Linked DNA regions of Homo sapiens: regions 2, 3, 4 and 5 are each linked to region 1. The links are contacts of gene promoters, found by promoter capture Hi-C in blood cells and fetal thymus (Javierre and others, 2016). All regions are on one chromosome and are shown on one strand. Each heading gives the region's core, a stretch centred on a gene start or on the middle of the fragment in contact. The rest is flanking DNA. Distances are from core to core; before and after follow the strand shown. Region 1 holds the start of FAIM (Fas apoptotic inhibitory molecule). Region 2 overlaps COPB2 (coat protein complex I subunit beta 2). Region 3 overlaps MRPS22 (mitochondrial ribosomal protein S22). Region 4 overlaps LOC124909439. Region 5 overlaps DZIP1L (DAZ interacting zinc finger protein 1 like).

What was found. Contacts are between HindIII fragments. The CHiCAGO score rates a contact against its expected background, and 5 or more counts as called.
Region 2: a fragment that was not itself captured here is called in contact with the fragment with the promoter of FAIM in region 1 in 2 of 17 cell types (naive CD8 T cells and total CD8 T cells); the score reaches 7.5 in naive CD8 T cells.
Region 3: a contact is called between a fragment that was not itself captured here and the fragment with the promoter of FAIM in region 1, in 10 of 17 cell types (naive CD8 T cells, activated CD4 T cells, total CD8 T cells and 7 more). The highest score is 14.9, in naive CD8 T cells.
Region 4: a contact is called between a fragment that was not itself captured here and the fragment with the promoter of FAIM in region 1, in 6 of 17 cell types (fetal thymus, monocytes, activated CD4 T cells and 3 more). The highest score is 8.7, in fetal thymus.
Region 5: a fragment that was not itself captured here is called in contact with the fragment with the promoter of FAIM in region 1 in 1 of 17 cell types (neutrophils); the score reaches 5.0 in neutrophils.

Annotation. Positions count from the first base shown.
Region 1 is chr3:138,606,665-138,610,605 of GRCh38, forward strand. FAIM (Fas apoptotic inhibitory molecule) reads left to right here and starts at 2,107. Exons shown (of 6, transcript NM_001033031.2): 1 at 2,107-2,273. RefSeq lists a silencer at 2,195-2,654 and an enhancer at 2,755-2,844. The HindIII fragment of the contact is 4,797 bases long and covers 1-3,688 here.
Region 2 is chr3:139,362,800-139,366,740 of GRCh38, forward strand. It overlaps COPB2 (coat protein complex I subunit beta 2), which reads right to left. Exons shown (of 22, transcript NM_004766.3): 15 at 3,769-3,941. Among named protein-coding and RNA genes, the nearest start is that of MRPS22, 21 kb to the left of the region's middle. The HindIII fragment of the contact is 2,935 bases long and covers 411-3,345 here.
Region 3 is chr3:139,345,342-139,349,282 of GRCh38, forward strand. MRPS22 (mitochondrial ribosomal protein S22) reads left to right here. Exons shown (of 8, transcript NM_020191.4): 2 at 1,537-1,703; 3 at 2,819-2,983. Among named protein-coding and RNA genes, the nearest start is that of MRPS22, 3.3 kb to the left of the region's middle. The HindIII fragment of the contact is 1,314 bases long and covers 2,035-3,348 here.
Region 4 is chr3:139,318,007-139,321,947 of GRCh38, forward strand. The region is part of intron 1 of LOC124909439; the gene reads right to left. Among named protein-coding and RNA genes, the nearest start is that of MRPS22, 24 kb to the right of the region's middle. The HindIII fragment of the contact is 2,515 bases long and covers 895-3,409 here.
Region 5 is chr3:138,066,841-138,070,781 of GRCh38, forward strand. It overlaps DZIP1L (DAZ interacting zinc finger protein 1 like), which reads right to left. Exons shown (of 16, transcript NM_173543.3): 13 at 1,311-1,527; 14 at 691-860. Among named protein-coding and RNA genes, the nearest start is that of DZIP1L, 47 kb to the right of the region's middle. RefSeq lists an enhancer at 3,887-3,941. The HindIII fragment of the contact is 5,579 bases long and covers 1-3,941 here.

The DNA of each region.
Region 1 (3,941 bases), core at 857-3,356:
AGGCTCCAGCAGAGTCACAGTCTGCTAAGGGCTTGTTCTCTGCTTCAAACATGGTGCCTTCTCAGAGCATCCACACATGGCAGAAGGATCAAACAGGCTCCCTCAAGCCTCTTTCACAAGGGCACCAATTTCCCCCACAAAGGATCCATCCTGTTAATATGAATGTGTTGGGTCTTAGGTTTCAACATATGAATTTTGGGGAGATACCAGCATCCAAACCATAGCAGCCCCCAAATATGCTGGGCCCTCAAAACCCTCCAAAATCCCTTCACTTATCTCTATTCTATGACTGGGCCTACTCTCCACAGGGACCATTCACTGCTCCTCACATGGCCCACTCAACAACTTTTCTCGCTCTCTGTAGGCAACACTGTCTCCTCCTTAAATTGAAAATCAAGGCCACCTAAGACACTACCCAGGCCTGCTCTTCATTCATTCATTCATTTAATAAATATTTACCAGAGCTAACATGGGCCTGCACGGTACAGATGTGAGACATACAAGAATGAGAGCCAAGCGGCCATGGTCTCTGCCTTCATGGATCTCAGTCTACTGTTAAGTTACACATTAAGCAAAAATTACACAAATTATTGCACACCCTGAAAGGGGCTAGGAAGAAGAATCCCTGGTGCTGCAATTTTTGTGTTTTTTTTGTTTTTGTTTTTGAGACGAAGTATCACTCTGTGGCTCAGGCTGCAGTACAGTGAGGCGATCTCAGTTCGCTGCAACTGCCACCTCCCAAGGTCAAGTGATTCTCCTGCCTCAGCCTCCTGAGTAGCTGGGATTACAGACGCATGCCACCACGCCCGGCTAATTTTTGTATTTTTAGTAGAGCTAGGGTTTCACCACGTTGGCCAGGCTGGTCTCAAACTTCTGACCTCAGGCAATCCGCACCTGGCCTCCCAGAGTGCTGGGATTACAGGTGTAAGCCACTGTGCCCGGCTGTTTTTTTTTTTTTTTTTTTTTGAGACAGAGTCTTGCTCTTCGCCCAGGCTGGAGTGCAGTGGCTCAATCTCAGCTCACTCCAACCTCCACCTCCCAGGTTGAAGCGATTCTCCTGCCTCAGCCTCCCAAGTAGTTGGGACTACAGGCATGCACCACCACGCCCCTCTAAGTTTTATATTTTCAGTAGTGACGGGGTTTTGCCATGCCTGCCTCAGCATCCCAAAGTGCTGGGATTACAGGCGTGAGCCACTGAGCCCGGCTGTTTCTTTTTGTGTGTGTTTTTTTTAATGAAACAGGGTCTCGCTCTGTTGCCCAGGCTGGAGTGTAGTGGTGCAATCACAGCTCTCTGCAGCCTCTACCTCCCTTCAGGGCCCAAGCAATTCTCCCACCTCAGCGTCCCAAGTAGCTAGGATTACAGGCCTGAGCCGCTAATTATTTTCTTTTCTTCTTTCTCATTCTCTCTCTCTCTTTTTTTTTTTTTTTACCATGTTGCCCAGGCTGGTCTTGAACTCCTGGACTCAAGAGATCCGCCACTCTGCCTCCCAAAATGCCGTGATTACAGGTATGAGCCACCACACCCAGCAATGCTGCAAGTCTTATGGGCCAGGATAGTGTAATCTAAGAAATGATATATGAAGAACTCTCACAATAGGGAAGAGGTGAGGAGTGTCCAGGCAGAGAGAAGAGCATTTGCAGAGGCCCTGGGCGAGAAGAAACCTGCATCCTTTAAGGACCTAAATGAAGCCAAGCAGGCAGAGGCTAGATCACACATGGGGGCTTCATGCCCACCTTAAGTAGTTTGGGTCTTTAAAAAAGGAATGAGACTCATAAAGAGGTTTTAAGGAGCGAATGCTATTGCTGCCATGAACAGATATTCCTTCCCCATAGCTGCAGAGCAGGCACAGGGCTGTTTTTGCCCGCCAGTATGTCCCCACCGTCTAGCCCAGAGCGGGGCCAGCGGCCGGCTCCTACCCACACTTGCTGGCAGGAAGACTGGACGCACTGCGGGACATGGTGATGTCCTGGGTTGGGGCTGAGGAAGGCCTATGCGCGGAGGGTGCGGCCTTCGGCTAAGGCAGAGGACCAGGGTTGGGTCCGTGGCGGCGGGAGGGGTGGCCTCCTGCGCTGGTCGCCCCAGGGGACCTGAGAGGCGCGACAAACAGTCGGCGCGTTTGGTACTCGCGCCTGCAGAGCTTTCAACCTCCGCGCCGGCTGCGCCTGTTTCTCGGCCAGGGGAGCAAGGCCACGCGGCCTACGCAGCCGAGTCGGAACCAACCGGTTGTTTGGTGAAACCTACCCCAGAGCCTCCCGCGGCCCACAGAGCACAGGTGAGGCAGCAGACCGGGTGGGGTCGGTGTCGCGCCTGCGCCCGCCCGGACGCCTCGGGCCCGCCCGCTCCGCACCCTGGAAACCCCTGCACTCAGCCCCCCGGCGTCCCCACGCTCTCGGCCCTGCTGCGCCGGCGGCGGCCATCTCTGGGCGGCGGCGGCGGGCGGTGTTTGCGCGGTCGGTGAGACCCGCGCGGGTGAGACGCTGGGTGAGTTCCGGACGCTTCCAGCCGGCCCGCCGGTGATCCCAGACCTCGGGGCGGGACGCGGCTCCCGCTCACCGCCGGCAAAGGTGGAGGTGCGGCGGGGCGCGGGGCGCGGGGCCAGCCCGGGGCGGTGCGGGGGCGTCCCTGCCTAGCGAGGCCCTGCCCCGCGACCTGCCGCACCCTCCTCCGGCCTGTTCGCGACCTCTAAAGATAATACTTCTCACTGTCGAAAACGTGGAACAGAAAGCAAGGAAGCAAGCAAAGCAGCCGTGCCGCTGCTCCCCAGAGACAAGCTGCGTTAACATGAGGGTGTATATTCTTCCAGATGGTTTTTCCTTGTAACATGAGCGGGGCTTGTTTTTGCAGAACCTGCATCATAAAGTGCTGAAACTCTCTCTCTCTCTCTCTCTCTCTCTCTCTCTCTCTCTCTCTCGACTCTCTCTCTCTCGACTCTCTCTCTCTCTCTCTCGACTCTCTCTCTCTCTCTCTCTCTCTCTCGACTGTACATTCCTGTGTGTCAGGTTGACTACCTCATCCATCCCTGACTCTTGGCATGGCTTTGGACTGTGATTTACTAAATGTAGTTTCTCCCTGATGGTGAGCGTACAAGTGGTTTTCAGTTTTTAGTTATTGCAAAAAGTAATTCATTGAGCATCGTTGTATCTGGGTTTTTGAGCGTGATCATTTCTGTAGAAAGAATCGCACAAGATTCGTTCTAAAACAAGATAGAATCCACGGTCTATACCACAAGGCTTCTGGTATAGATTGTGAAATGGCCCTCAGAAAAGTTATTCTCCTTTTTGTACCTCCAGTAAGTAGCATTTGGGAATACTTGGCTCGAGGAGCTTCCTGAGTGATTTTACTGGAGACCCCCCTCACTTCATAAGGGGCCGGCCCGGAGATGAAGATGTCAACACTTGAGTGTGACTTGCATTATTGGCTGGCCCTACCTGGGGGCCTTTGCTGAAAAGGGAACCATGAGCATCTTAGTAACTACTATCATCTAGTAATTTTTAAACTGACTTCGGTTTATCTTGAACGAACCATTTCAGTCCCCAGTAAGAATAAACCTAAGTTAAGGCAAAATTCAGGTGGATTAGATGAACAGTGGCAACGTGTTGGTGTTTAAGTCATGCTCTGAAACTTAGGTGTTGGGTTGCTAGGGAAGGGATTTTAAAAGATTGATGGGTACGTATGAGATACGCAAAAAGCTTTCTTTAAAGACATGTAAAAAGTTTCAAGTGCTTGGTATCATCTCCATCAGTGAAAGTAAGTGGAATATGGTTTTTCATCTTTTTAAATTTACATTTTAATAAAATATTTGCAAAAATAGAGGGTTTTTTGTATTTATCATTTTCCAGTTTGGTCATAGAATCTTGAAAATTAAGTACATGCATAAGAGTTTAAAAACAACAGTGGATTAATTTCTTGCTCCCAAGTTTCATTTTTTTATTTTTCAGAC
Region 2 (3,941 bases), core at 628-3,127, 760 kb after region 1:
TAAAACTGGAAATGTAAATATAAACAGATATGTCAAAAAGAAAGGAATTTTGCAAAGTTGACTAAACAAGAATCATTTCAAAAGAAGAAAACTAGGCACAGCAGTGTAAACTTAGCTGTTGGTAATCTACTCAACTAGGCTGGGAAGTAGAGATCATCTAGTCCAACCCCTCATTTTGCAGATGAGACTATTAGCAGTAAATGGCCAAAGAAACGGGAGTCAAATATAAAACCTTCCAACTTTCTGTCATCTGTAGGTCATAGCAAACATTGTGTATTCAGGTCCAGTCACCAATTAGGTGTCATTACCTATTCCTTTATTGTTGGTCTCAAGTCCAGTTCCTCAGCAAGTATCCAAAAGACAGGAAGTCTAAAATTTCCTTCCCATGCTCCATTAAGGCATTAAGAACAAGCTTTTAAACCAGGGGTCTCCCAAACAACCAGTCTGTGGCCTGTTAGGAATCAGGCCGCACAGCAGAGGGTGAGCAGTGGGTGGGTGGGTGAGTGAGCATTACCGCCTAAACTCCGCCTGTAACGGCATTAGATTCTCATAGGAGCATGAACCCTATTGTGAACTGTACATGTGATGGATCTAGGTTCTGTGCTCTTTATGAGACTCTTAATGCCTGACGATCTGAGGTGGAACAGTTTCATCCTGAAATGTACCCCCTTCCCATCTGTGGAAAAATTGTCTATCTGCCACGAAACTGGTCCCTGGTGCCAAAAAGGTTGGGGACCACTGTTTTAAATCAACTATTGTAATTATTAAATTAGCTTCTCCTTCAAGACAAACACTACTGATGGGGTCATTTTTAGCTCTAGGGATGTAATGTGTTACACAAAAAGCTCAGGGATAGTTTACCTCTTCACCAGACTGAGGGAGAATGCTCATTTATGGGATAGTCAAGATTGAGAAGCTGGACAGCTTTAGGGTTCTGTCTGGCTATATCTTCAGGATGGCTTTATCATCAAGTTTGAAATGTTTTAACTTCTCAGCTTATACAGGCTGCCAACCCGCCCCGATCCATCCATGAATACGATGTAAATAAGGCATTCTAAATAACCGGAGTTACTTTTTTTCCACTAGCATTGATATAGATAACATAAAACCCAAGAGTGGAGGATGGAAGATCTCTGGAACTAGTCAGATACAGCCAAGGGCAAAACACATGAAATGAGGCGGACTAAAATATATACTTTTGTTTTCTGCTAATTCCCTACTACTAATAAAATCACACTAAAAGGATTTTTTTTTAAAGGCATAAGCTCCCAACGACACACAGAAAGGGAGAGGAAACAGTAACAAAAGTTTGGAAGCTGGAAAGCTGGTGGAGGAATATAAACATTTTGTTAAAACAGTAGAGAAAACAGATCCTAAATCAGGAGTGAGAACAGCATAGAAACAATGTGATTTACACCCAGTGTGTCTCATGAATGGTAGGGCTAAAAACAAACAAACTGCCCTAAAAGCATTCAGAAACTCTAGATCCGCTCCCCTCTCCCACCTCCCCTCTCTCACCTCCCCTCTCCCACCTCATGACAAAGAAGACAGGTTTATTCTTTGGAGAGGACAAACTAAAGAGTCTCCAGACCAGGAGATTCCAAGCACACTTGGAGGAAAAAGTACAGAGTATCAAAGGAAGACAGGAGATTATGAAAATGGATACACAGACTCAATGAAATATTAAATACTGAGACTCCAAGGTATCTTCTACTGAGACCCCAAAATGATGGTGACTGGGGAGCTTTTCAGTAAAATCTACTGAGCCCAAGGGAAAAGACTTAAAAATACTAAAATGTCAACTCCATGAAGGCTACATGTCAGCAGGAACAGTGCCTAGCACATTGTTAAGTGCTTGTTAAATTCATTACATAAATGGAAAGTCATCAAAAATTCATTGGCTAAAGATACTGACATTGAGACTCCCTAATCAAATGGGCCAACCACACCAGATATTGTGAAATCCAAACCCAATATGCCCCACCCACAAATTCAGACCTTCTGATCTGTTTCTTGTACCTTCACTCTTAAATGAGGGCCCAAGGACATCAGATACTTGAGGAAAATCACTAACAGCAAAGATGCAGATCAAAATGAAGCAATAAAAGGAACGTGAAGGAAGCATACCATATAGGGGGAAGAGAAAACTTCAAAATCTAAAAACAGAAATATATCATTCATATCTGTAGAAAGATACGAGAAACTTTTATCTATAAACAATAAGATTTTAAAAGAGAATAGGAAAATCAGTGCAGGACATACAACATGAACAATTCCAGAAAGACAGAATACAGAAAACGAAGGATATCACCATAGAACGATTCATGAAAATCCTTCAGAAATGTAGGACATAAGTTTCCCATTAAAAAAGCTCATCTAATAACTGGCAGAATTAATGAAAACTGATTCCTACCAAGGCCTACCATGATTATAACATTTCAGTACAACAGAGATGACATTCAGAAAGTTTCCACAGAGAAAAACCAGGTCATGTACTAAGAATGAGGAATAAAAATGGCTTTAGACTTCAACAATAACTACAAGGCAATGGAACAATGCCTTCAAAATTCTGAGAGAAAATTACCTCCAACAATTATATACCAGTTAAATGGTTGAATATGTTTTAGGGTAGAACAATGGCACTTTCAGATATTCAAAGTCACAAAACAATTTATCTCTCATTAACAATCCTTTTCTCAGGAAATTGCTGAAGGGCATGTTCCCCTAAAATGAGGGAGCAAAGCAGGAAAGGAGATAGGGGTATAAGAAACAATGGATCCAACAGGACAGAAGCAAAGGAAGCCCCAACATGATGGTGAGGGGAAATCCATGATGAGAGCAGGAAAACCAGTGCAGTCTGAAGGAGACTAAGCAAACTGAAAGGAGATCTTCAGGAACTCTGGAGAACCAGCAAAGTCCAGGGAGAATTAACCACAGGTACATAGAAAATTAAGCAAAGGGGGGAAAAAGACAATTATAAACTAGGGAAAACAAACAATTGCAGGAAAGGAAAGCTAGATAATATGCTACATGTTCACCTGTGAGCAGTGATTACATAGCCATAATAATGTAAACATTTGAGTAGTGATCAATCAAAATTAGAACTATTCTGAGAGATAAAGGATAGGAAAGTGGCATGTATGTGGTAGACGCAGGGGAATGAAAGAAGGCGAAATTCTCATCTTCTACAGAGGGGGAAGTCACAAGAAATGCCTAAAGCTAAGAAATGAAGAAACTGCTATACCTCAAGTTATTTAGAGATATGGAAATAAATACCAAAAGAATTAGATAAAATAATTACCTCTAGGGAGTAGAAAGCAAAAAGGAGGGCTGATTTTTTTCTTAAGCTTTGCAAAACTTACTTTATGCTTTGCACATATGTAACTTTGCTTAAAAAACATTACATAAGAAAAAGTCATGTCATGGTACATTTTATATGTATTTTAATCATTTTTTTTTAAAAAGCAGATGGGATAAAGCTAAAAATGCAGTGTAGAAATGAAAATATCAGGAGACTGGAAAATAAGTGCACAGAAAAGGAAGACTGAAAATCACCTCCAACATTTAAAGGGGGCACTGAGAAAGGAGAAGGAAGAGTGTAAGAAGGGTGTATCATGTGCTGTAATAAGTGCCTTAAACTCACAGGAGAAATTCTATTGCCACAGGAAATCAGTTGGCAATTAAGAAATAAAGTTTTTCAACTCCATAATAATTTGCTTTCAAATTGCAAGTTTTAAAAAACAAAAAGAAAAAAACAAAACCTCTTACCTGCTTTTCCAAAAAGTGTGCAACTCTGGTCCTCTGTTCTTTTGGAATGGTAGGAAGGACCTTATCAGCCATGCTAAAGTCCCTCCGCATGACAGCTGTCTGGTATTCCAGGACTGAAACCAGCAGGGAATAGCTAATGATGTTCAATTCTTTATCCCCCAGATAAAGCCTGT
Region 3 (3,941 bases), core at 1,442-3,941, 740 kb after region 1:
ATGAGGATAGCCTTGACTAGAGTAGTGGCAGTGGGAAATGGAGGATTAAAATGAGATTTATGAAGGCAAACAATCAGTATGTTCTCTGCCAGTGGTGTTTTTTTTTTTGTTTTTTTTTTTTTTTTGTAAAATTGGGATAATCTTCGTGTTTACCTCATGGGTTGTTGTGAGTATTAAATGGGCTGAATGTGTAAAGTACTTAGCTCAGTCAGTATTGGCATGTAGTAAATAGCTAATAAATGGTAGCTCTTATAATTACTGTTATTATTACTACAGCTATTTGATTACTGTTGTTGTTATTACTACTGCTATTGGCTAGATCTGGAGGATCAGGGAGAATTTAGGAATGGCTGTAAGATTTCTGGCCTGTATGGCCTACTGGATGATGCTGAGATAGGGAACAGAAAATGCAGGTTTGAGACAAGGGAAAGTTGATGGGTTCTGACTTGGCAGTATTCAAGTACATGAGAGAGGTTGAGTAATTGGATGGAAGGTGATCTTGGCAGGAGATTCAGATTTTAGAGTTTCTGGCATATAAAGGTAATTGAAGTCGTGGCAGGATAGGAGAAATCATCGAGTAAGAATCTGAGAAGGGAGAAAAGGACATCGTTCAGAATCTGTAGGGATACCAACATTTATAGGAGAAGAAGAGGTGACTAGGAACAAATGGCTTTTTCTTTCTTTTTTGCTAATGGAAATGGAAGTAGAAGTTAGGCAAAGCAATAAGCAAACTGCATGAGGCTGAGCTAAGATTTGATTCTCTGCTTATGTCAAAGGCTCTTCCATGATAACACACGGCCTCTTCAGTATCATGTCCAGTGAACCAAGCCTCTTTCCTAGCTGCAATCTCTTAGCCTAGACTTTCCCTCCCTTTTTTCTCTGCCGTGATGAGGCTCTTGGGACGCTTTCTTTGACCCTGTCATGCCCATCCCTAGTCCAGGCTATGCTTAGTTTCTTCCTCTGCAATCACCCAAGCCCCGTACCTCTCCTGTATACCATACCTCTCACATTATGTCTCCCCACACCTCCCACTTATACCGAGGAGCGCTATGATAAATTGGAAACCATCTAGGATCCAGAACCAGACAAACCTTGGTTTAAATTTTGACTCTATCACTTAATAGCTAGTTGTCTTTGGATAGGCTTCAGCATCCTCATTTATAAAATTGGGTTTATCAGTACCTATTTTGTGAGTGGTTATAAGCATTCCTGAAAATGTGTGTTATACCTGCCATATAGGAGACAGCTCTGTAAGTGGCAGCAACCATTACAGTTATTACATTAATTACTTTATTACTGTTACTTCCTCTAGTAGTCTGTCCTTTTGGCAGAGACCGAGTCTATCTCCTCATCATAATGAGTGCTCAGTAAATCTTAAATGAAGAAATAAATGAATGCATCTCATAGGTATTAGCATTTTGCAGTGCCAAGGTAGACATTGTGCTAATGCTTTTTATTGTTAACTGACTTTTCTATTTAGAGGTCTTGTTAGCTTGTCATTTTTGTCAGCTTCTTATTTACTAAAGTCCATTTTAGCAGAATCTGGTAGCCCAGAGACCAAGAAACCTACATTTATGGATGAGGAAGTTCAAAGCATACTCACGAAAATGACAGGCTTGAACTTGCAGAAGACTTTTAAGCCAGCTATACAAGAACTGAAGCCACCAACCTATAAGCTAATGACTCAGGCACAGTTGGAAGAGGTACGTGAATGCAGGAATATTGTTAGAATACCTTTCTTTAAGGGTTTAAACAACATTTCTAGAGGCCCCTCCAGATGCTTATAGCTATTCTTCCATAGGCACTAGTGAAAGGTAATACCAGGCATAGAACTGAGAAAAGAAATGTGAGTAGGCTGCCAGAGAGGGGCAGGGAGCATGGCTGGAATTGAGCAGACTAGGGCATATGGATCAGGTCTGGGTGTTCAGAGAGTATCCTCTCTCCTCTCAAGGCAGCCTGAGCACCCCTCCTTTTTTCTGCCTGCTCCAGCTTCCTTCCTGGAGAAACATCTACTGTGATCTGCCTTGGGGCTGAAGCTTTGGGGAGATTGTGAGATCCTGCATGGAAACAGCATGTTTTCCAGGCACCAGTGTCCTCAGTACCATGGGTACTGAGTGCTGCGTGGAAAACACTTTGATGTATGAATACGTAAAGCATTAATACTCGTCTTTCTGATTCAAAAGTAATTTATAGTCAGCAAAATATATATATCTCTCTCCAGTAGTAGATTACATGAAGAGTAAAAGTCCATCTTTTCACCTCCTAGAGGTAACTGCTTTTAACAGTATGGCATGAAGCAATGTAGTCAATGGTTAAGAGAATGGGCTTTGAAGTTGGGTTGTCTAGGTTCAAATACCAGTGTTGCAATTTTCTAGCAATTTACTTAACATCTGTATGCCTCTGTTTTTTCTTCTGTAAAATGGAGATGATAACAATTGCACCTAACTCATAAGGTAATTGAGGCCATTAAATCAGCCAAATACATTTAGACTGTTTGAACACTATCTGGCACATAGTAAGCACCCCAAAACTGCATTCTTTTATTCTGTTTCAAGCAGCTTTTGTAGCCTGGCTTTGTCTCAGAGCATGCCTTTGTGGTTTTGATAACGGTTGAGTCTATAGCTGGTGGTCTCAGCCACATCGCAGAGGCAAAGGCCAGGGCTCACAAGTCCAGGTTTGGCTTTTTACTCACTGATTTGTGGCTACACCTTCTTTTCTATGCAGGTTTTTGCATTTTTTATTAGTATGTGCTTTTGTCAGATGATCCTTATATTATGTAACCTTGTGGCTTTCCTTAATAAATATTTTCTTTCATTAGGCTACAAGACAGGCAGTTGAGGCAGCTAAAGTACGATTAAAAATGCCACCAGTTCTGGAAGAGCGAGTACCAATAAATGATGTGTTAGCTGAAGATAAGATTTTGGAAGGAACAGAAACAACCAAATATGTGTTTACTGATATATCATATAGCATACCACACCGGGTGAGTATATGTCTAATCGCAAAATGATCTTTCTTTGAAATACTATGTGGAGAAGGGCTTGAGAGATGATGTGACCTGGCTGTCTCTGATGCGTCCAAACCAGATTTCCTCTGACTGGGTGAGACCCTTCTGGAAGATATACTATATGAGGGATGAGAAATGCAGACCAGCCCCACATCATGGTGTTACCATTTCTCAGCAGATAATAGGCACAGTATTTTCCAGATTCCAGATGTGCTGAGGCAGAACAAGGAGTACACAGATACAGACAGAAACCCATCCCAAACCACAAATGGACAAAAATCTACAAGGCAATGGAAGCAGGAGACTCTTTTCGCCTAAGTTAGATGGATTTCTTTAGCTGAAGCTTTTTGAGAAGATAGAATGTTTCTGTCTTATAAATTCCTTGATGATGCCAAGAAACTCAGGCATCATAAAGGATTTTCGCTTTCCAGAATTTTCAGTAAGAATGACAGATGTTTCTCAGATAATTTTCAGGCATCACCACTTCTTCTGTTGTGATTGTTATTCTCTGGCTCCTCTTTACTTGATTGCAAATTTAAAAGAACACTCTGGCATTTTAGAAATATGTAAGCTTTGTATTTGAGCCTTTGCAAGTAAAGAATAAAAAGAGAATAGTTTACAATTCAGCCCACAGAATACGTTAGAACACTATAGAATGCTGAGTTTAGGAGAAGGTTCACTCCATATTAATCTTTTATTATACATGATTATGGTTAGAAAACGATTTGAGCTATGTTCAACACCAGCCATCTGTATATTTGACATAATGAACATGAGTCACAGAGTTTCAATTTTAATTACAGTTTTTGTTTTGTGATGCTTTAATATATGTTTGCAGTGCTGTGCATGTTGGTTGGGAAGCATTTTGTAACTTGAAAAGGAGAAAGGAACTTGGAATTCAGGTTTCTCAAATTACCAAAATCCTTCTGAGGAA
Region 4 (3,941 bases), core at 902-3,401, 710 kb after region 1:
CTAGTTTGTCCAGAGAGCGCTTTGAAGGCTGCTGTGGGCTCCCTTTACTTAAAAAGACCCTTTCTCATTAGGATTTAAAGCATATGCTTGGCCAAGTCTGTCAAAATGCATCACAGAGATGGTCCCAAACTAACTGTTGAGCAGCCCCCTGCCCTGATCAAAGCGGAGAAGGCAGGCATCGCGCTGCCCACGGATGCTGGAGCACGTGAAGAGAGCCAGCTGGGACTACAGTCCAACAGGCCCACAAGCCACAGGCCAGAGGGCCTGTCCACGAGCTGCTGAGCAGTGAGGCACCTGGATGAACCCAGTGCCCAAGATGTCCATGAGGGGATCAACGGCTCCTCTTGTCCAAAGCCAGATCATAACAGCTTGAGCCCTGCCAGGGAATGAGAGGCTGATGTTGTAGCTGGAAGGGCTGGATGGGGAGGGGACATAGATAAGGGGATGCAATTCCCTGCTGGGCTAGTGTGGGAAATTAAAAAGCACAGACGATGTTTATGCCCTAGAGGTGAGTGGAGGACCAAAGGAGACCCTAGAAGCCCCAGATCTGAAGCCGACTCTAATTGCAACAGCTCCGTTGCTTGAGTAGTGGCCAGACACCTGGCACTGTGCCAGGGCTGTCATGCCTGGACTCATCCAAGCCTCCTAATAAATCACTGAGGGTGGGCATACTAATGTTAGCCTATAGGTTTGACAAACAATAAAATAAAACACAGAAAGATTGAGTACTTTGCCCAATGTCCCACAACTAGCCCACAGCAAAGTTAGGGTTTTAACCTACAGCTGTTTGGATACAAAGCCAGTGCCCCTAATCCCTGGGTGTACCACAGCTTAGAGATCAGACCAGGTGCAGCCCCATCATAGAGAGGAGAGATAGTCATTAGGGGACCTGAAAGCTTGGGGTACAGGTCTCCCCAGTGGAAGGCTGGCTCAGAGGAATTCCACATGTGGATGTGGGCCCGGGATCGCCGTTCAGCAGCTGCATATCCAGAGGACGACTGAAAGGGGAGGAACAAGGCACACAGGTGGGAGTCTCCTGCTGCTGACCACCCAGGATGGACCTGCCTGGGGAAGGCTGGAGGATTTGGCAGGGGCGAGGGAAAAGCAACTCACACTTCAATGCAAGAGCTCATCCCAACACCTTTTGAGACTGGGGTGTGGTCTCATTCTCTAGGAATCAGCGACTCAAAGAGGGACTCACAGAGGTGGAATGGTGGCTGGCTCATGGTCACCACAGTAGAGAAGCTAGTTTCAGAAGAAAACTGCAAATAAATCTTGGAATGTTCCATCTGGGACCTCAATGGCTTTGTCCTGGGAAGGTTTTGGCCAAAAAAGAGGGTGCTGTGTCTGAGATGAGGAGAGAGGTGTGAATGTCCAGCTCCTTGGGCTCTGCTCTTCTTGTCCCTGGCTGGAGCTCCTGACTCAGGCAGGCAGGGGCATCGCAGGACCCATGGGTGCAGAGCCCAGAGCCAGGACCTCAGTTTACTCTGGTTGTCTTCCTGCCTATCTGGGCTGAGATGGGGATCCAGCTCAGCAGCATGTACGGTGTCCCCCACATACCCCAGTGTCACAACTGCTCCAGCTCGGCTTCCTCAGCAGCCCTGGCTCCATGCTTAGGACCCGTGGTGGGTCCCTGGTATTCACTATGATGCTGCCTGCCCAGCCCTCTGCCCCTGCTCCAGTGCCCAACACACCAAACTTGTCAGCCCGGCCTCTGGGGCTGGCACCTGTCCAGTGTTTCCTTCTAACCCCCACCTGGGCACTGGCCTCAGAGTCATATGCTCCTGGGTTAAAAACTCTGCCACTTACTAGCTATACTCGCTGGGCAAATGACTTTATTTGTGGTGCTCGTTATTAAGCCATTGTCTCTCAGCTTCAAACCAGCGTCCCTCTGTGATGTTCTGGGATCCCACAAATCACCAGTATGCCTTGCCAGAACTCCTTGTTAGGCTCTGCCAAGAGGGGGCACTAGAGGGAGCCTGCAACACTGGTGGATGGAGAAGGGGTCAGCTCCTTTGTGTCTGTTTCCTGTTCTGTTGGCAACACCCCAGCAATGCAATGGCCCTGCACCCCAGCAGCAGCCGCTGGTTCCAGCTGTCAGTTTCCTCCCCATTCGCAGACCTGTCCCATGGGGTCCTCTGAGAGACACCCCCTCAGAAATCTGGGCCTCAGCCTTGCAGCCCCCTCCCAAGTGTCCACATCTTTATAAGCCCACACTCTCACCCTTGTTCCCTCAGCCCTAGGGGCTGTTACTGACCCTGAGGATCTTTTCATGTGCTTATTTGCCATCCCTGTATTTTCTTTGAAGTGTCTGCTCAAATCATTTGCCTATTTTAAACAATTAGATTACTTCCTTATTATTGACTTGTAAGAGGGCTTCATATATTCCTGCTGTTACTACCTCTGATGTCTCAGCATTCCCCTTTGCCTTTCTGTTCTGCAAGCCCTGGTTAACAGTGCCTTATATGAAATTCGCTTTGTCAAAAAGACATTTTCTGTCTCCCAACAGACATACTAGTCTGTGCCTCCGATTCCTCATCCATCAAAGGGGAACAGTGACTCCACCTCACAGGTGGCAGTGAGGAGTCAGCCAGAAGATGCCTGTGAAGGGCATCATGGCCCAAGGCCTGGCACCGAGGTAGGACCTGGTTCGAGTGGCTGAAGACTCAGCAGCTTCAACAGGGTCCCTATCGTGAGCCCCCAGAGCTGTGCCTTCCTGTTTGCTTTAGGCCAAGGGAAGAAGCAGAGTGCCTCTGTGGGCTCCTCTCAGCTGACGCAGAGGCGGTTTTTCCAGCCAGCTTCTCTCCTTTGAGAACTCGTGCGATAAAGGAGAACCTGGGCAACCCTGGAGTGAGGCAGGGTGAGGAGAACTGGCCCTTCTTACATGGCCTAATAGTCACATTTAAGAAGTACCCTAATGAGAGATTTTTTAAAAGTCTGGTTTTCAAATTTCACTGTTAAGAAACAAAAGGGCAGGCCATAAACTGGAGGGAATTAACTCAATGTTAAGTATACAGACAACTTAAAAAAAGCAGAAGATTTGAACAAACACTTCACAAAAGAAGATATCAGAATGGGCAGCAGGCACATGAAAAGATGCCGAATGTCATTAGTCATAGAGAAATTCAAAGTAAACTACAATGAGATATCACCACCTCCTCTCCCACTAGAATGGCTAACATTAAAAAGACAGAAGATTCTGTGCTGATGAGGATGTGGAGCAATTAGTACCCTCATACTTTGCTGGTGGGTTGCAAAAAATAAGACCATTTTAGAAAATTGATTGGCAGTTTCTTATCTAGTTAAACAGAGGCTTATCATATGACCCAGCAATCTCCTTCCTGGATATTTACCTGAGAGAAATGAAAACATTTGTCTGTATAAAGTCTCCTTTGCAAATAGTCATAGAAGCTTTATTCATAATAGCAAAAACCTAAAAATAGCCCACACGTCCATCAATAGGTGAAGGAATAAATAAATCATGACATATTGGCACAATGGAATACTAACTCATTGGTGAAATCAATAAACAACCTGTATACACAATAAATCTCAAAATCATGCAGAGTGAAAGAAATCAGACATCGAAGAGTACATGCTGGGTTATTCCATCTATATGAATCTCCAGAAAAGACAAATCCGTTCTATAATGACAGGAAGTAGCTCCGTGGCTGCTCAGAGGCAAGGCTGGGGTGGAGCACTGATGGGGAAGGGGAGCAGGGTACCTAGAGTGATGGGAGTGTTCTGTACAACAGCTGTATACATTCCCCAAGGCTTACCAAAGGGTACATCTAACATGGATGCGTTTTATTATGTGTCAGTTGCACCTCAATAAAGTTGATTTTTAAAATGTCACTTAGACATGAAACAGTCTTCATAAGACTGACATACAAGGAAGGGACCCATCACCACAGAGAGCCTCCAAATGGAGCCTCCTTTGA
Region 5 (3,941 bases), core at 843-3,342, 540 kb before region 1:
GGGGTGGGCCTACAACACACCCTGGGCCACGGCGCACCTGAAGGAGGGCCGCTGATCCAGAAGACAGTGCCAGCTCTTTCTCTCGGACCCTCCCCGCCCCTGTGGCTGGGGTTGGAGCCTGGCTGGAGTGTACCCTACAGCTGCCTGTTTAAGGGCCTGCACACTCAGGGTCTTCTTTGCAAACCCAGCCCTGCACACAAGTAAGATTGGGATCTGGATTTGGGGAGGCTGGAGGGGCCCCCACTTTGGCCTCAAGTGCGGGTTGTTCCTCTAATCCAGCCCTAACAGGAAGCCTATGCCTCAGGCATTCCTGGGCCCTGTCACCACTACTAGAGCGAGGCTTTGATCTCCCGTAGCTGGCCACAGTGTTTACTCTCTACTGGAAAGAACATGGAGGAGAAAAGGGGTGAATGGCTCCCTTCAACCTCCCACAGTTAACAATTTAATGACAAAACAAGGGGTAAAACTAAACCTTGCTCAAACTCTAGCTTTCTCCTGATATCTCTGCTATCCCACAAAAAAATATCTGAGGCGAAGGAGGACCATCCTTTCCAAGCCAAATAGAGAAAGAGATGTCAAATAAGAAAGCCTAAAGGAAGCTAAAGGGTGTTTCTGGAGCCTTGAGAAATCTGGGCTGGAGAAGGGCTACACCGGTGGTCCCAGCCCACTCACCCAAAGGTGCCAGCTCACCTGAGCCCTGGCCAGGGGGCTGGGCATTCTCCTCCGAGGTCTCTGTGTCAGACCAGTCCCAGTCATCCTTGGGCCGGGGCACCATCCTGGAAGGAACTTTTGGGGGCTGTAGAGACACACGCTGCACACGGTCTCCCTCTGAGTCCTCTTCAGAACTGAACGGGGGCGTGCTGCCACGAGGAGGAGAAGAAATGAGGGATGCATGGGCCAGAAAGAAAACTTCAAAAGCCAAACTTCACCACGCTTCAAGCTGGTTTGGTTTGCTCAGGGCCAGCCCTGCTCCCTCCCTCAGGCCCAGAAGACAGCCAGGAGACCCCTGGAGTGCAGCAGCCACACCAGTATCTCCCTTAGTAGAGCCCTGCCCATCTGAGGATCCAGCCCCTCTGGAGGGGGAACGGGTTTGGGGGAGGACATGGGTAAGGGGAGGGTGGGTTTGTCTTGGCTGGGAGCACAGGTTCTCAAGTCCAGAGCTCAGACTGGACCCCACCTGAGGCACCTTCTATTCACATGTGTCTGCCCCCCTCCTATCTGCAGAAGCCTGGAGGGAGCCCAGAACAGGACTGCCTGAATCCAGGAGCCACCACTGCAGGTGGGGTGAGAGGGCAGAGTCTGGGGCTCACCTCATCCCGGGCCCCGAGGAAGGAGGGGTGCTGGAGGGTCCATGCAGTCCGGGGCGTGGAGCGGGGGCGGACACCTGGGTCAGGCTGGAGCCATGGCTGCCATGGCTCTGACGAGTTGGTGGGGGTGGCTCTGCCGGTGTGGATGGCAAGGCCACCTGCAGGGTCCTGGTCTTTGGCTGGGCCTCTCTGGTGACCAGTGTGCTCTGCTGGCTTTTGACTGGAAACACAGAAAGGAATGATTTTTGGAGTACACCCATGCTGGATCTCAAGCCTAAGAGGAGGGAGAAAGTGGCTCCAACACCCTGGAAATGAACAATTACTCCCTCTCCGTGCTGTAATAACCACAGCAGATTTCATGACTGTTGCCAAATCAGGTGTTCTGCTGGCCAGATTCGAGGCTAGGACCACAGTTCCACAGTTTCATCAGAGACCAGGAGAGCAGCTGGGTGCTCCAGGGTCGTGTTGTCATTACTGAAGACCAGCAGGAGTCCGCGGGCCTGAAGAGGGGCTCAGTAGTCCTAGATGGACTTCACCAAGGCTGCTACCCTCTCCCCAACCCACGCTACAGCCGCTGCACTGCAGGCAGTCCTGCAGGAAGACCCCACTGCCACCAGAGGTCGCCGCAGGACTGCATGAACCATCAAGATCCACTCAAACCTCCTCCCAAATGCAGTCTGGGGCAAGGCAGTACCAAGGCAGGCAATTGGACACAGCCCCTCTGTTTTCCAAATTGCATCAAGACCTATAGCCACAAGAGCGGTCCCGGATCAGCAAGTTTTTATGGGAAGAGAAGAGAGAGAGTGCATCACAGGGAGTCAGACATGTGTGGATTGGGTCACAATGTAAAATGAGTTTCTTACAGTAATTCAAGATCAGAAAATGTTTGAAATACAGTTGACCCCGAAACAACGTGGGGTTGAACAGCCATGGGTCCACTTATACGTGGATTTTCTTCCGACTCTGCCACCCGTGAGACAGCAAGAGCAACCCCTCCTCTTCCTCCTCCTCTTCAGCCTACTCAACACAAAGATAACAAGGATGAAGTCCTTTATGATGATCCACTTCCCCTTAATGAATAGTAAACATATTTGCTCTTCCTTGTGATTTTCTTAATAACATGTTCTTTTCTCTAGCTTACTTTATTGTAATAATACAGCTTATAATTCATATAACATACAAAATGTGTGTTAATAGTCCATATTGTCGGTAAGACTTCTGGTCAACAGTAGGCTATGAGTAGTTAAGTTTTGGGGCAGTCAAAAGTTACACGCAAATTTTCAACTGCATGGGGGGTTTGCGCCCCTGACCCCTGCATTGTTCAAGGGCCAGCTATGCACTGCTCTCAGTGAATGTGTCTACTCAGAAGTGGAGCTTCCAGGAAAGAGTGAACTGAAGAGAAGGGGAAGACAAAGACAAGCCTGCTGGGGGAAAATAACAATAGCTTCCCATGACTGTGTACCAGATACTAAGAAAAGCACTTTACATACAACCACTTGGCCCCCGAGCATCTTCAGAGGCTATCATTTTCCCTACAGAGGCTTGCCCTCAGCTCCACGGAAGAAAGTGGTGAATACAAACCCAGGTTGTCTGTCTGCCCTAATCTTGGGCCCTCACCGCTACTTCCCACAGCCTTGCCCAGGCCACAGAAGAGGCAGGGTCCAAGCAGAAATGGGAGGTGAGCATTAAGACAGCACTTGTGGGACCCAGGAAAAGAATAAAGGTGCAGAGCTGGAAGGAAAGGTCTACAAAATGCCACAAAAACACAGCGCTCATCTCACAACTCAGTAACATCTCCAGAGAAGGCAGAACCCCAGGGCCAGGGAAAGGGAAGGCTGCGAAGGGGGCTCTCCCTCCTGGCTTTTTTACTACAGGAACAAAGGTGTGTGGGAGTGGGTGGGGCGTAGCACCTAGAAGGAGCAAGATACCTTTGCTTTCTCTTGGAAGCCAGCATTCCGAGGGTTTTTCCATTCATCCTCCCCAAGTCCCTGTCCCCTCCCTCCTCTGAGCTCCCACCACCCCCATGCTTGGCTCCATCACATCACCTGGTCCTGGCTGATTTCCCAGGTGAGGTGGAAGGCCCTGGCACAGAGTCAACCTCAGCAAGTACTGTACTAAATGAATGAGTGGGCAAATGAATGAATGAACATTTGACTGAATGAGCAAAAGGATATACGTTTAAATTGGAGCATAAAAGGCAGATTGGCAACCAGGACAAATACCCTTCTGTCTGAGATTTCTATGCAAGATAAAAACCGTCCTTTCCTTAGAGATTTTAAGGCCAGAAGTTTAAACTAAATATTATAGTTTCCCAGGTCATCAATACATTTTTTTACCATATTTTCATGCCAAAATGACAATGCTTTTAAGCACAAAATACCTGCTTGATACTTGTCCAAGTAATAATTTCCATGAGCTCACAGGATTGCTATGTTAGTCTTATTTTCTTCTAATTCACATGAGGAAAAATAAAAATAAGTTATAAAATGATTGGTTGATGTAGCAACTAAAATCATCTCTCATATCCTCAGAGATACGTGGGCCATACTCTGCAAAATTTTTTTGCATGAAGAGCTCAAATCGGTTCTTCCTGGACACAGGAGATACAGAACTGGCCTCCTTCTGGCCACATGT